Regions from separate parts of the Homo sapiens genome. Here region 2 is linked to region 1. Evidence: promoter capture Hi-C in 16 types of primary human blood cells and fetal thymus (Javierre and others, 2016). All regions are on one chromosome and are shown on one strand. Each heading gives the region's core, a stretch centred on a gene start or on the middle of the fragment in contact. The rest is flanking DNA. Distances are from core to core; before and after follow the strand shown.

What was found. The method cuts DNA at HindIII sites, captures the fragments that hold promoters and counts their contacts. A CHiCAGO score of 5 or more calls a contact.
Region 2: a fragment that was not itself captured here is called in contact with the fragment with the promoter of BEST4 in region 1 in 1 of 17 cell types (neutrophils); the score reaches 6.4 in neutrophils.

What each region holds. Positions count from the first base shown.
Region 1 is chr1:44,785,483-44,792,066 of GRCh38, reverse strand. It overlaps BEST4 (bestrophin 4), which reads left to right and starts at 3,897. Exons shown (of 9, transcript NM_153274.3): 1 at 3,897-4,513; 2 at 4,601-4,695; 3 at 5,371-5,604; 4 at 5,839-5,993; 5 at 6,391-6,468. The coding sequence starts at 4,362. RefSeq lists enhancers at 1-396, 4,669-5,354, 5,356-5,445, 5,355-6,040 and a silencer at 5,566-5,695. The HindIII fragment of the contact is 5,761 bases long and covers 1,096-6,584 here.
Region 2 is chr1:45,016,383-45,022,966 of GRCh38, reverse strand. It overlaps ZSWIM5 (zinc finger SWIM-type containing 5), which reads left to right. Exons shown (of 14, transcript NM_020883.2): 12 at 2,179-2,342; 13 at 2,820-2,901; 14 at 3,651-6,568. The coding sequence ends at 4,513. Among named protein-coding and RNA genes, the nearest start is that of UROD, 7.4 kb to the right of the region's middle. The HindIII fragment of the contact is 2,051 bases long and covers 2,646-4,696 here.

The sequences.
Region 1 (6,584 bases), core at 2,648-5,147:
TTCTCCATGTTTGTCAGGCTGATCTCGAACTCCCGACCTCAGGTGATCCGCCTGCCTCGGCCTCCCAAAGTGCTGGGATTACAGGCGTGAGCTACCGCACCCGGCCTCTCATGGGGAATTTAAAAGGTTCAATGGCTTTCCCAAAGTCACAAAGCTTGGTGACTTTGGTGACCATGGTGAAGCATGGACTTGGGAACCTGGGCAGTGTGGCTCCGGAATCCATTTCACTGCCAAGCCATATAACCACTTCTCAGCTGTGAGGAGGGGACAGGGGAATGGGTGGGCAGGACCAATAGGGAGGGAGAGGAGAGCTGGAGGATAAGGAAAGGTGGGGCAGGTGATTTATGGGCTGAGTGGTTCCCTCTCCTGCACCATAAACAAAGGGACTGGTCAACAGCTGAGAAGGAGATAAGGTGATTCAGGAGGTAGGGACTGGGTGGGCCTGGGGACCGCCCTCTTCCTCTGGCAGAGGCTTCAGGTCACGTACTTTTATCCCGGGCTCTGTGGGAAATTCACAGACCACAGGGCTGGGAACAAGCAGAGGTGTGAGGGCCACAGGTGCGGGTGGCGGTGCAGGATTGAAATGCAGCCAGCTGGTCTTCCTGGGGTAGAGCTGTCAGGGAGACACGGCCTGAGCTCCTGCACTCCCAGGACCTGGCTTTCCAAGTCCTAGAACATCTTTAAGTGGTAAGCAGCCCAGATGCTCTAGGAAAGCCACAGATCAGAGCATGAGAATGAACTGCCTGGCCATGATGCCTGAGGCCCAGGAGCTGGCATCTCACCCTCCCCAGGTCAGGTCCTGGACACACACAGACACACACACACACACACACATACTCTCTCTCTCTCTCTCTCTCTCTCTGAGTCCTGTTCTTTCCTCATATTGACATCTCCCATGGAGAATGTAACGCCAGTCAGGCCATGAGTAGTTTTCCAGATCTTGGCTCATCTGGGAAATCTCACAAAATAGCAGGGGTGGGGTGGGGGACCAGATGTCTTTCATCTTAAAAGGGAAGAGAGAAATGGAGAACAAAAGAGGGGGTGGAGGGAGGCAAGAAGGAGGGAAGGATGAGAAGAAAGAAAGAAAAAGAAGCTTGCTTGGTTTCAAGTCCTCCCCAGCTTTTTCTTTTTCTTTTTTTGTTTTTGTTTTTGTTTTGAGACAGGGTCTCACTCTGTCACCCAAGCTGGAGTGCAATGGCTGTATCATGGCTCACTGCAGCCTCAAACTCCTGGGCTCAAGTGATCCTCCCACCTCAGCCTCCCAAGTACCTGGACTATAGGCACACACCACCACACCCAGCTAATTTAAAAAAATTTTTTGTAGAGACAGGTCTCACTATGTCGCCCAGGCTGGTCTCAAACTCCTGGGCTTAAGTGATCCTCCCACCTCAGCCTCCCAAAGTGTCAGGATTACAGGCATGAGCCACTGTAATCTAGCTTTACCTAGATGAATCAGATTCAAAACTGTTCTCAGGTGTCTCACAGGCTAGAGGGGAGATCTCCCTGTAAACAGATCATAGACCACTGTGATTAACTGCTGCAAGAGAGAAAACCCAGAGGGTTTTGAGGAGTAACCTGGGGAAGATCATGGAAGGCTTCCTAGAGGGTGCTCTGAGCCACATCTTGAAGGAACAGTTACAAATGAGCTAGGCATATACACCTACTATGCACTCACAAAAATTAAAATTAAAAAAAAATTTTATATGAGCTAGGCAGAGACTGGTGATGAGGGTAGAGGTGGGTAAGTCTCAGAGGGCCTTGTGTATTCAGCTTAAAAGCCAGGATCCAGCACTGTTTGGTCTGGGGCAGGTTAGCAGGACATGAAGAAAAGGTCTCTGCCTCCTCATTTCTCAGGGACTGTCTGGCTTGGAAGGCTTGGTAGGCAAGACTGGACCAGTCGTGGGAAACCAAAGAGAACAGATTCAAATTTTCATAGTAACAGCAGCCCAAGCCAACCACCCACAGTGCTTTAGGCCATAGGCATTGTTTCTGTGAATACTCAAAATTGCCCCATGAGGTTAGGCGTTCTTGATTCTGATTTGCAGAGGAGGAAACTGAGGTTCAGAGAGATTAGGTAACTTGCACAGTTACAAAGAGCTGGGGTTCAGACCCAGGTTTGTCCAATTCCCAAGCCTGTGCTCCTAATCACCTCTCTATGCTTCCTATCTTTAGGAAACTTGCAGAAGAGAACCAGCTCACAGTGTAGGGGGAGGAGCTTCCCAAAACAAGACAGAGGCAGGACCACCACTCTTGGGATTTTTCAGTGTTCACTTACCTCAGCACTGGGAGGGTAAGTAAGCTGCCAATTCTCTTCCACTTTGAGGTTCTATTTCTTTTCTTTTCTTTTTTCTTTTTCTTTTTCTTTTTTGAGACAAAGTTTTGCTCTTGTTGTCCAGGCTGGAGTGCAATGGCATGATCTCGGCTCACCGCAATCTCCACCTCCCAGGTTCAAGCGATTCTTCTGTCTCAGCCTCCGGAGTAGCTGGGATTACAGGCATGTGCCACCATGCTCAGCTAATTTTGTATTTTTAGTAGAGATGGGGTTTCTCCATGTTGGTCAGGCTGATCTCGAACTCCCGACCTCAGGTGATCCGCCTGCCTCGGCCTCCCAAAGTGCTGGGATTACAGGCGTGAGTCACAGTGCCTGGCCTTTTTTTTTTTTTTTTTTTTTGAGACAGAGTCTCTGTCACCCAAGCTGAAGTGCAGTGGCACAATCTCAGCTCACTGCAACCTCTCCCTCCCGGGTTCAAGCGATTCTCCCATTGAGATTCTATTTCTTTTTCTTTTTCTTTTTCTTTCTTTCTTTTCTTTTTTTTTTTTTTTTGATTACCCAGGCTAGAGTGCAGTGGCACGATCTCAACTCGTTGCAACCTGCGCCTCCCCAGGTTCAAGCAATTCTCCTGCCTCAGCCTCCCATGTACCTGCTGGGATTACAAGTTCGTGCCACCACACCCGGCTAATTTTTGTATTTTTAGTAGAGACAGGGTTTCACCATGTTGGGCCAGGCTAGTCTCGAACTCCTGACCTCAAGTGATCCACCTGCGTTGAGGCTGCCCAAAGTGCTAGGATTACAGGTGTGAGCCACCTTGCCTGGCAGCGGAAGTTCTATTTCTATCAGCGCCTTAGGTATTACTTCCTCCAGAGGTGAAAGTGGCCACTCAAATCTTGGGCACCCCTAGGAGTCAGGATGTTGGACACAGGGCTTAACGGAGCCTGCACTCCTAGGCCTGAGCTTCCAGATCTGTGGCTGTCAGCCCCGTGGCATGGATGGAGAAGAGCCTGGCCAAGCCCCCAAGCCCCTGTACAAGAAGACTGGGAGTGTGGCCAGTGCACAGGATGGGTCCTGGAGCTCATGCCTTTGCTAGGCCACTTCCAGCCTTGGAAGTCCATCAGCCCTGGCTTTGAATCCTGCCTCCAACATGTTCTAGCTGTATGGCCGACGGCGGGCAAGTCATTTACCTCTTGGAGCCTCATCTGTGAAATGTGGATGATTGATTCCCTACCTCATGGTGCTGTGATGAGGATTTCTTGAGAGGATGACCTAGTAGTGCCCTTGGCATGGTTCCTGTCACTTAGTCAGTGCTCTGTGATCAGCAGCTGGTATTATTATAACAGTTTATCATGCATCTGTCTTCCCACCTGAAACGTGGGACAATAACCCCTGTCATACTGGCTTGAAGGACATGGTGTCGTCTGTGTGAGCTGTGGGGTCAGTATAGCTGGCATTTCTGCCACTCGAAGGCCAGCCCAACCCTACAGGGGTAAGGAGACACACCCAGTTCCCAGCACCAGGGGAAGCTGGATGACAGCTTCAATCCATCAATGATAGGCCTCAGTCCAGCCTAACTTTATGGACTGCAGAGGTACTTAAGTCTGTGGGGGTTGAAGTCTAGCCCAGTTCATCTTCCACACGGGCTGCTGCCCAGAGCAGGTAGGCAGGTATGGGATGGGGGTGAGAGTGCCCTGGGCCCTGGTAGTTCTAGTTAATCAGCTTCCAAAGCAAGGCCCCAAGGAATAGCAGTGGATTTGGGCTGGAGCTGCGTCTCTTGTCCGCAGCAGTTCAGGATCTGGTTATCCCTAGCCCTGCAGGCTGAAGAGGAGCTTGAGGAAACCTCATGCATGAAGGGACACAGATCTCAGTTCTACCTTGTCCAACTCTAGCCTGGCTTTGCCCATGTACTGCTCAGTTCTGCAGGGGGTGGGGTGTACTTTTCTGCTCTGCAGGCTCCTACCCCCTTGTCCACTGACGCAGGGTGAAGGCTGGGGTGTGTGAGACCAGAGTGGAAGGGAGGTTGTCTGGAGAACTAAACGACAGCCCTGGGGGCAACTCTTGTGACCTCCTGCCCCAGGCTCCCAGCACCATGACGGTTTCATACACTCTCAAAGTGGCGGAGGCCCGCTTCGGAGGTTTCTCTGGCCTGCTTCTCCGCTGGAGGGGAAGCATCTACAAGCTCCTCTACAAGGAATTCCTCCTCTTTGGGGCCTTGTACGCTGTGCTTAGCATCACCTACCGGTAAGGGCAGGGTCTTAGAGCTGGCGCAAGTGGGGAGACTGGGCCACCCACCTCCCTCTAACCCAAGCCTACACCTGCCTTCCCCAGGCTGCTGCTGACCCAGGAGCAGAGGTACGTGTATGCTCAGGTGGCCCGGTACTGCAACCGCTCAGCAGACCTCATTCCCTTGTCCTTTGTATTGGGTAAGGCTCCCTTCTAGTTTTCCCTGTGTCCCCCTTACTGTGTTCCCTGACCTCTGGGTTGGGTTGACAGCTCCGAGGGTCAGAATTACCCAACAGATGGTGTGGTGACACACCTGCAGTCTCAGCTACTCGAGAGGCTGAGGTGAGAGGATCGCTTGAGCCCAGGAGTTCCAGTCCAGCCTGGGCAATGTAGCGAGACTCTGCTAAAAAAAAAAAAAAAAAAAAAAAGAATTACTCAACACGGTGGCAGAGCCTTCCTGGTCAGCCAGAGCAGGCCCAGCAGGCACAGGAGCTGGGTGCTGGGTCCAGGACTTCCAGAGGGCAGGGCCCTATCACTTGCCGGACCCTCACTTCCAGCAAGGCACAAGACACCTGCTGGCCTCACAAGCCCACCCTGGGCACTGCAGGGGAGCTGGACAGAGGTGACAACCCCTTCCCCACCCTCCTGGGAAGCAGTCTCCTGGCTTTGAATCCCCACTTTCCCTCTGCTGAAGGAAGTTTGCCCTCCTCCCTCCTCCTGGCCTCGCACAGCAGGGCACTGGAGCTGAATGTTTCCTTCCCCCTGCCACGATTCAACTGGCCTGGACCAGGCCCTTTGCTGGGGGAGGTGAGGCGCTCCGACCCCCAGGCTCTCCACTCTCCCTTCCTACTCCCTCTATCACGGCGGCCAAGCAGGTTTCTATGTGACTCTCGTGGTGAACCGCTGGTGGTCCCAGTACACAAGCATCCCGCTGCCAGACCAGCTGATGTGCGTCATCTCGGCTAGCGTGCACGGCGTGGACCAGCGGGGCCGCCTGCTGCGCCGCACCCTCATCCGCTACGCGAACCTGGCGTCCGTGCTGGTGCTGCGCTCGGTCAGCACCCGCGTGCTTAAGCGCTTCCCCACCATGGAGCACGTGGTGGACGCAGGTGCGCCGCCCGCCGGGAGCCTCTGGGGGTCCGGCCCACAGCCGGATGCAGGTGGCGCCTGGGAGAGTCCTGGGAGCAGGGGCCTCCAGGGAAGGGTCTGGACTGCGACAGGAACGCGGAACCGCGAGTCCTGGGACAGCCGGTGGACGCGAGGGAGGGGAGCCAGACGGCGGAACAGCAGCCTCCCCTGGCGGCAGAGGGTGCAACTGCACCCCACCTGCTTTACCCCCTCAGGTTTCATGTCCCAGGAAGAGAGGAAAAAGTTTGAGAGCCTGAAATCCGACTTCAACAAGTACTGGGTCCCCTGCGTCTGGTTCACCAACCTGGCGGCCCAGGCCCGGAGGGACGGGCGAATACGTGACGATATCGCTCTCTGTCTACTTTTGGAAGTGAGTGGGCTCAGGACCAGACCCATCTGCCCTCCTCCCTCTAATTTTAAAGATGAATAATAATTTTAATACCTAACAGTTGTATGGCATCAGCTGTGTACCCCAGCCTTTTGGAAGCCCTGTACCCATGTTAACTCATTCATCCCTTACAGCAACTCTTGACATAGGTACTATCATCCTCCTTGCACAGATGTGGAAACTGAGGCACAGAGTAGAAAAGAAATTTGCCTAAGTTACACAGCTAGTTAGCAGAGCTGGGATTCAAGCACCCCATCTTAATACACCTCTGAGGGCAGAATGAGAAAGAGCCTCCTGGCCAGGCCCAGGCCTAGTTTGTGCTGGGCACCCCTGTTCCTTCCTCACCTCTGCTGACTTCCTGTTCCTGCTGTTCCCCCAGGAGCTGAACAAGTACCGAGCCAAGTGCAGCATGCTATTCCACTATGACTGGATCAGCATCCCCCTCGTCTACACCCAAGTAACTGCCTCTCCCCTCCCGAGTCCCAGTGCCTACTGTATGTCCTGTGCTGTGTGTGAGATGAGAAGAATTAGCGATGGTACTTGCCTGGCCATTTCAGTCCCCTGAGGCACCGG
Region 2 (6,584 bases), core at 2,422-4,921, 230 kb before region 1:
AAAACTCCTCAGTGTTCCAAAAAGCAAAACTTCAATTTGCTGGGCACAAGCCACTATGTTGAATCCACGTGTAATGATGTATAGGCATTGTATTAGATATTATAAGTAATCTAGAGGTGATTTAAAGTATATGGGAGGGTATGATGGTAGGTTATGAAAGACTTGAGCATCCTCAGATTTTGGTATCCAAGGGAAGTCATGGAACCAATCCCCCACAGGTGCTGAGGGATTTCTGTATTAATATTGGTTTACCAAATATACCACATTAGTATAAGATGTTAATAATAGGGGATATATGGGAACTCTCTGTACTATCTGATCAATTTCCTGTAAACCTGAAACTACTCTAAAGACACAGTCTATTAACTTAAAAAACTGTTTTTAAAGATGATAGAAGAATAAAGGGAATCTCTTGCATAATCCTGGCACCCAAAAACAACTATTAATAAGACATTGGCATAAATATTCCTGGAGATTTTCTATTCATATATATGCACACACACTATGTATCTTTTTTTATAAAAATAGAATCATAGAGGTCAGGTGCGGTGGCTCACACCTGTAATCCCAGCACTTTGGGAGACCAAGGCGGGTGGATCATGAGGTCAGGAGATCGAGACCATCCTGGCTAACACGGTGAAACCCCATCTCTACTAAAAATGCAAAAAATTAGCCGGGCGTGGTGGTGGGCGCCTGTAGTCTCAGCTACGCGGGAGGCTGAGGCAGGAGAATGGCATGAACCTGGGAGGCGGAGCTTGCAGTGAGCCAAGATCGCGCCACTGCACTCCAGCCTGGGCAACAGCACGAGACTCCGTCTCAAAAAAAAATAAAATAAAATAAAATAAAGTAGAATCATAGAATATTACAAATTTTTTATAATTCTCACAACAATTGTTTCCATTTTATAGATGAAGTTATTGAACTCTTATTTATTTTTTTTTTTTTGAGACGGAGTCTCACTGTGTCACCCAGGCTGGAGTGCAGTGGCCCAATCTTGGCTCACTGCAACCTCCGCCTCCCAGGTTCAAGCTCTTCTCCTGCCTCAGCCTCCTTAGTAGCTGGGACTACAGGCTCACGCCACCATGCCTGGCTAATTTTTGTATTTTTTTAGTAGAGACGGGGTTTCACCATGTTGGCCAGGCTGGTCTCGAACTCCTGACCTCAAGTGATTCACCCACCTCAGCCTCCCAAAGTGCTGGGATTACAGGCGAGAGCCACTGCGCCCAACCTGAAGTTGTTAAACTCTTAAATGGCTGAACCAGGTTCGGTCCCCAATGTGTTTTATTCCAAAGCCTGTAGTCATACCATTCCTTCTCTTTGACTTTATCAGCAGTTACAAAGCAAAACATAAGGCCTACTTTTTGTTTTATCTTTACTTAATGTATTTGTCCTTTATAAGATATAACAGTCTTTCATACACTACTGCCTTCATCCAGCAACCTTCACCTCATATGATGTTATATTCCTTAACTCTTTGTTTTTTGTATAGAATCCCTGCCTATTGAATAAGAAGTGGTGGCCCCGCTCCTTTTTGCCCCAGGGTGCTGTAGTGAGAAGCAGACAGTGGGACTGCCGTTCTTTTTTGGCAGTAATGTGACTTTCTGTCTACTGTATAAGTAGCTCTGGAAATTAAGGTGTTCAAGAAAATTATTTCTGGTACCTAAAGATCCTGAGGGTTGCCCGGCGCAGTAGATCATAGGGTCAGAGATCGAGACCATCCTGGCTAACACGGTGAAACCCCATCTCTACTAAAAATACAAAAAATTAACCGGGCGTGGTGGCGGGCGCCCGTAGTCCCAGCTACTCAGGAGGCTGAGGCAGGAGAATGGTGTGAACCCGGGAGGCAGAGCTTGCAGTGAGCCGAGATCAAGCCACTGCACTCCTGCCTGGGCAACAGAGCAAGACTCCGTCTCCAAAAAAAAAAAGGATCCTGAGGGTAGAGGGTATTAGGTAGAGACAGATGAAAAGGTGGAGAGAATAGGATTCACATGGGGGTCTGGGGAAGGAAGGAGCCTCAAATGTGATTAGTGGAGACAGCTCGATAACCCAGAAGGGGCGGTAGCATTCAGAAGCATTCAATGAATTGATAGCAGCCATTTCAATGAGTATCTATTGCAGTCAGCTGACTGTTTAGTAAAACTTTAAAATAGACCCTGCCCCTTCTCTTGACACCTATAGGAGACACTTTGAGACTCCGAACAATTCTGGAAGCAATACAGAAGCACATTCATTCTTCCTCCCTCATCTTCAAACTGGCCCAAGATGCATTCAAGATTGCTACTCCCACCGACAGTAGTACTGACAGCACCCTGCTCAACGTTGCCCTGGAACTTGGGTTACAGGTATGGAGGAAGAGTAGGCCATCCACAGTTTAGACCGCTGACCTAGTGACAGTTGGCAGAAGATAAGATCTCTGGGAGACTGGGCATAGGCCAAGTCTGGCTCTTCCTTTGGGCCCAGAACACAAGTTCTAGGCTAGGGAAAAGGCAAGGATTTCATAAATTGGGCTCCACTTTTAAGTTAAGGCCAGAAGCAAGATAAAGCTTTAGGCTCCCTGGGGTCCCTATCTTCTCTCTACCTCCCCATTTCTACAAGTCAAGCAAGGTATGATAATAAGGACTTTGCTGCAGATCATCAGAGAAGCTTCCTATCTGATTGGTGGGAGGGCTGGGAAAGAAATTAACTGTATTTTATGTTTATCAGCGGAGAGACCACTGTTTAAAGCACCAGAAAATATTTGTCGCATAAATGAATGCAAGGGGAGGGAGAGGTCACAACAGTTAGGCATAGCCCACTGGAAAGGCCTCTTTTGTGCCCAGGTGATGCGGATGACCTTATCAACCCTTAACTGGAGACGCAGGGAGATGGTACGATGGTTGGTGACCTGTGCTACAGAAGTGGGTGAGTCTCCCACCTCCCTCTACCCCCAGGGGAAAGGAGTTTCTAGGCCCTACTCTTGGGACAGGACAATCAATCCTTAGAGCTCTCATATTCCTATGAGATCTTAGGTCCATCAGGAGATGGCCTAAGAAAGGATGGGGCTGCTGGTAGGAGAAGGTGGCCTCTGTTCAGCCAGCCCAAGCCCTGTCTTCACTGCTTGAACCATATCCTGATGTCAGCAGCCCTTGATCCTCTCAACAGAGACATGTCTAAGAGAATGAATTTTCAGTTGCTACTCAAGTGCTCCCTTGGGAGGTAGTGGGCCCAGTGGTTTGGTCCCCATCCCTGTGCATGCTTGTAAAAAACTCCAGACAACTTAGAGGCTCAGGACCCTTTCTAAAGCCCAAAGCCCCAGCACAAGACTCTACCCTGAGAGGCCCCACTTCAGCTAGAACCCCTGGCAGATCTGTAACCCATGCCTCAGGGCAAGCAAACCCCAGGCTCTACTGTCCCATCCTTGTGAGGGGCTAAGAGCACCTGCAGAAACCTTCAACTCTCTGACCTGGGGAAAGAAGGGATAGGAAGAGACCCCAAACAGGGTCTGGCCATCTGGGATGCTCCCCTTGCCCTGGTTTGCCTCATATCATCTCAAGGTTGCTGAGGAGGAAGAATTCATCTCTGCAGGCCAAGTTCAAACCCCAAATGGTAATCTGGGTAGACCTGAATCAGGACCCAGATGGCCACGGCTGAGCTCAGGCTCCCCCTGACAGGTGTGCGGGCCCTGGTGAGCATCTTGCAGAGCTGGTACACACTCTTCACCCCTACTGAGGCTACTAGTATTGTAGCTGCCACAGCCGTATCCCACACCACTATCCTGCGCCTCAGTCTTGACTATCCACAGCGGGAGGAACTGGCTAGCTGTGCTCGCACACTGGCTCTACAGTGTGCTATGAAGGATCCACAGAGCTGTGCCCTGTCAGCCCTTACACTCTGTGAGAAAGACCACATTGCCTTTGAGGCAGCCTACCAGATTGCCATTGATGCTGCTGCTGGTGGTATGACCCATTCACAGCTGTTCACCATCGCCCGCTACATGGAGCTCCGTGGCTACCCGCTACGTGCCTTCAAGCTGGCCTCATTGGCCATGAGCCATCTTAACCTGGCCTACAACCAGGATACTCACCCAGCCATCAATGATGTGCTCTGGGCTTGTGCTCTCAGCCACTCTCTGGGCAAGAATGAGCTGGCAGCTCTCATCCCCCTGGTGGTGAAGAGTGTGCACTGTGCCACAGTGCTTTCAGACATCTTACGACGCTGCACAGTGACTGCACCTGGCCTGGCCGGCATCCCAGGCCGCCGAAGCTCTGGAAAGCTCATGTCCACTGACAAAGCTCCATTGCGCCAGTTGCTGGATGCCACCATCAATGCCTATATCAACACTACACACTCACGCCTAACACACATCAGCCCTCGCCACTATGGAGAGTTCATTGAGTTTCTAAGCAAGGCTCGGGAGACCTTCCTGCTGCCCCAGGATGGCCACCTGCAGTTTGCCCAGTTCATCGACAACCTCAAACAGATCTACAAAGGCAAGAAAAAGTTGATGCTGCTGGTGCGAGAGCGCTTTGGCTGAGAGAGCAGATAGCTCACTGCCAGAGCAGCCTGGGTTCCCAGGTAGTATCAGGTCAGGCCAAGGGCACTGAAACATTTGTCCACCCTGAGAGAACTCTGAGCACCTGTGGATGAGGCCAAAGGACCACAGGGCTAAGGATGGGGAAAGTCCAGCTCTAGTCGATAATGCCTACCTTGGCAAGCTTCTGACTACAGCCTACTGTTCATGGAGGAGCTGGGCCCTGCAGATCGACCAGAAACCCCACAACATGCCACCTCATGCCCCTATATCCTGCGTGTCCTGAGCATTGGCCCTGTCTCCCTTGGCAAACACAGAACACTGTTCCATCTCAGGGATTGCTTAACCAGAGAAACAGACACATTTGTGGGACTGTAAATACTATATGTGTTGCTAATTATTGTAAACTTGTAACTATTTATAATTCTGCTTCTGATTTGATGGGCACTTGAAGTAGCTGTGGGTAGGAGGATATGCTTATTTTCTGAGGAGACTCACAACCATTTCTCAGGTTTCCCTTGCAGAGTGTTTGCTGGTAGCAGTGGAAGAGTGGGGGTGCCAAGGAGAAAAATGGCCAGTTAGGATCAACCCAAGTCTAGTCTATGCAGAATCCCCCACCTACAGACAGGGCATTTATAGTCCAGTGGTGAGTGAGGGACAGAGGCCAGGACTGGACTTAGACTTTTGCCTCACAAAACTGTGAGGACATTGAAGCTCCTGCCTCACACAGCCTCTTCAGGAGCCTGCTGAACACCTGAGAAACAAGTGCAGGGAGAAGATGAAGGTCTGGGAAGCCGCTGAGTTCATAATATTCATCTACTGTGGTCACCTTTGTGTTAGCAAGTGTGTGGTTTCATCTATAATTGTGTGTGTGTATCTTTATGGCTAAGTACATGTGTGTATGTACATAGATACATCTGTGCATGCCTGTTTGTGCACATATATATTTATGTGTATGTGTCAGTTCTATGGCTGTGTACCTGTTTGAATATGTGCACACTGGACTGTGAGTTTCTACGTGAGGATATACACATTTTGTGTACATGTGAGGATGCACATCTTTGTGCAAATGCACTCATGTTTGTGCATGTTTAGTATGTGTATCTGCGTACACGAGTGCATGTGTATAAACATGTTTGTATCCATGTGTATGCTTGTTATCCATGCATCTGTGTCTTTATATGTGTAACTGAGCGTATTTCTACATGTAGGGATGTCTGTGTATTCATGTTTGAGGATCTGCATCAATGTGTCCTTTTTGCCAGATTTCTCTTTCCCATTCCTCTTAAATCTCTCTCGCCAGCTAAACGTTTGTTCCCCATCTCTGTGCCTCCTCTATTCATTCTCTCACCAAACAAGCTTCTAAGCACCAATCTCCCTCTGCCATCAGATTGGCTGCTTTAGCTCCATAGTTCTCTTCTCGCCTCATACTTGCTTTCTTCCCCTGCCTTTCTACCTCAAGCTTCCTCGCCGGCTTTTGTCACAGTCTCATTGCTCGCTGACTTGGAGGCTAGGGCTGGTCTGCACTTAGCCTCTCCCTTCCTAATTTCTAGCCCTAGTGGGCAGTCCTGTCTTAGCCCTGGCTGACCTCCATAGTGTATCATGTTCCTGCTACCTTCCTGACCCCTGTGCTCAGCCTGGAATTGTTATAGGAGGTAGCAAGGGCACTCAGAAAAGTCAGTTGGAACCAGTGTCTTGGTGTTTACTGTTTCATGTCTTAGTTCCTGAGTTGGGGGTGGGGTTTGATAGGGAAGGGGTGGTATAGCTAGAATGTGAACTAAGAACTTCTCCATCTGCTTTACTTTTTCTTTCTTCGACAAACTGTCACCTTTTTTACTCCAAACTGACCAAGAAGTTGTATTTGCCATTTGTGGCTACTCAAGTCTTACTGTCCAGCCAAGGGCCCCTACGTCTCAGCCCAATGGGTTGGTTAAAAAAAAGAGAGAAGCCACTCTCATTTCTGTATCACAGTTGCCCTTTTTTAGCAAGTGTGTGAATTCACAGTGCTTTTCTATGAATAAATCATGGATCACATAAAAGATCATTTTTCTAAAAGCAGAAATTGTGTTCTCTC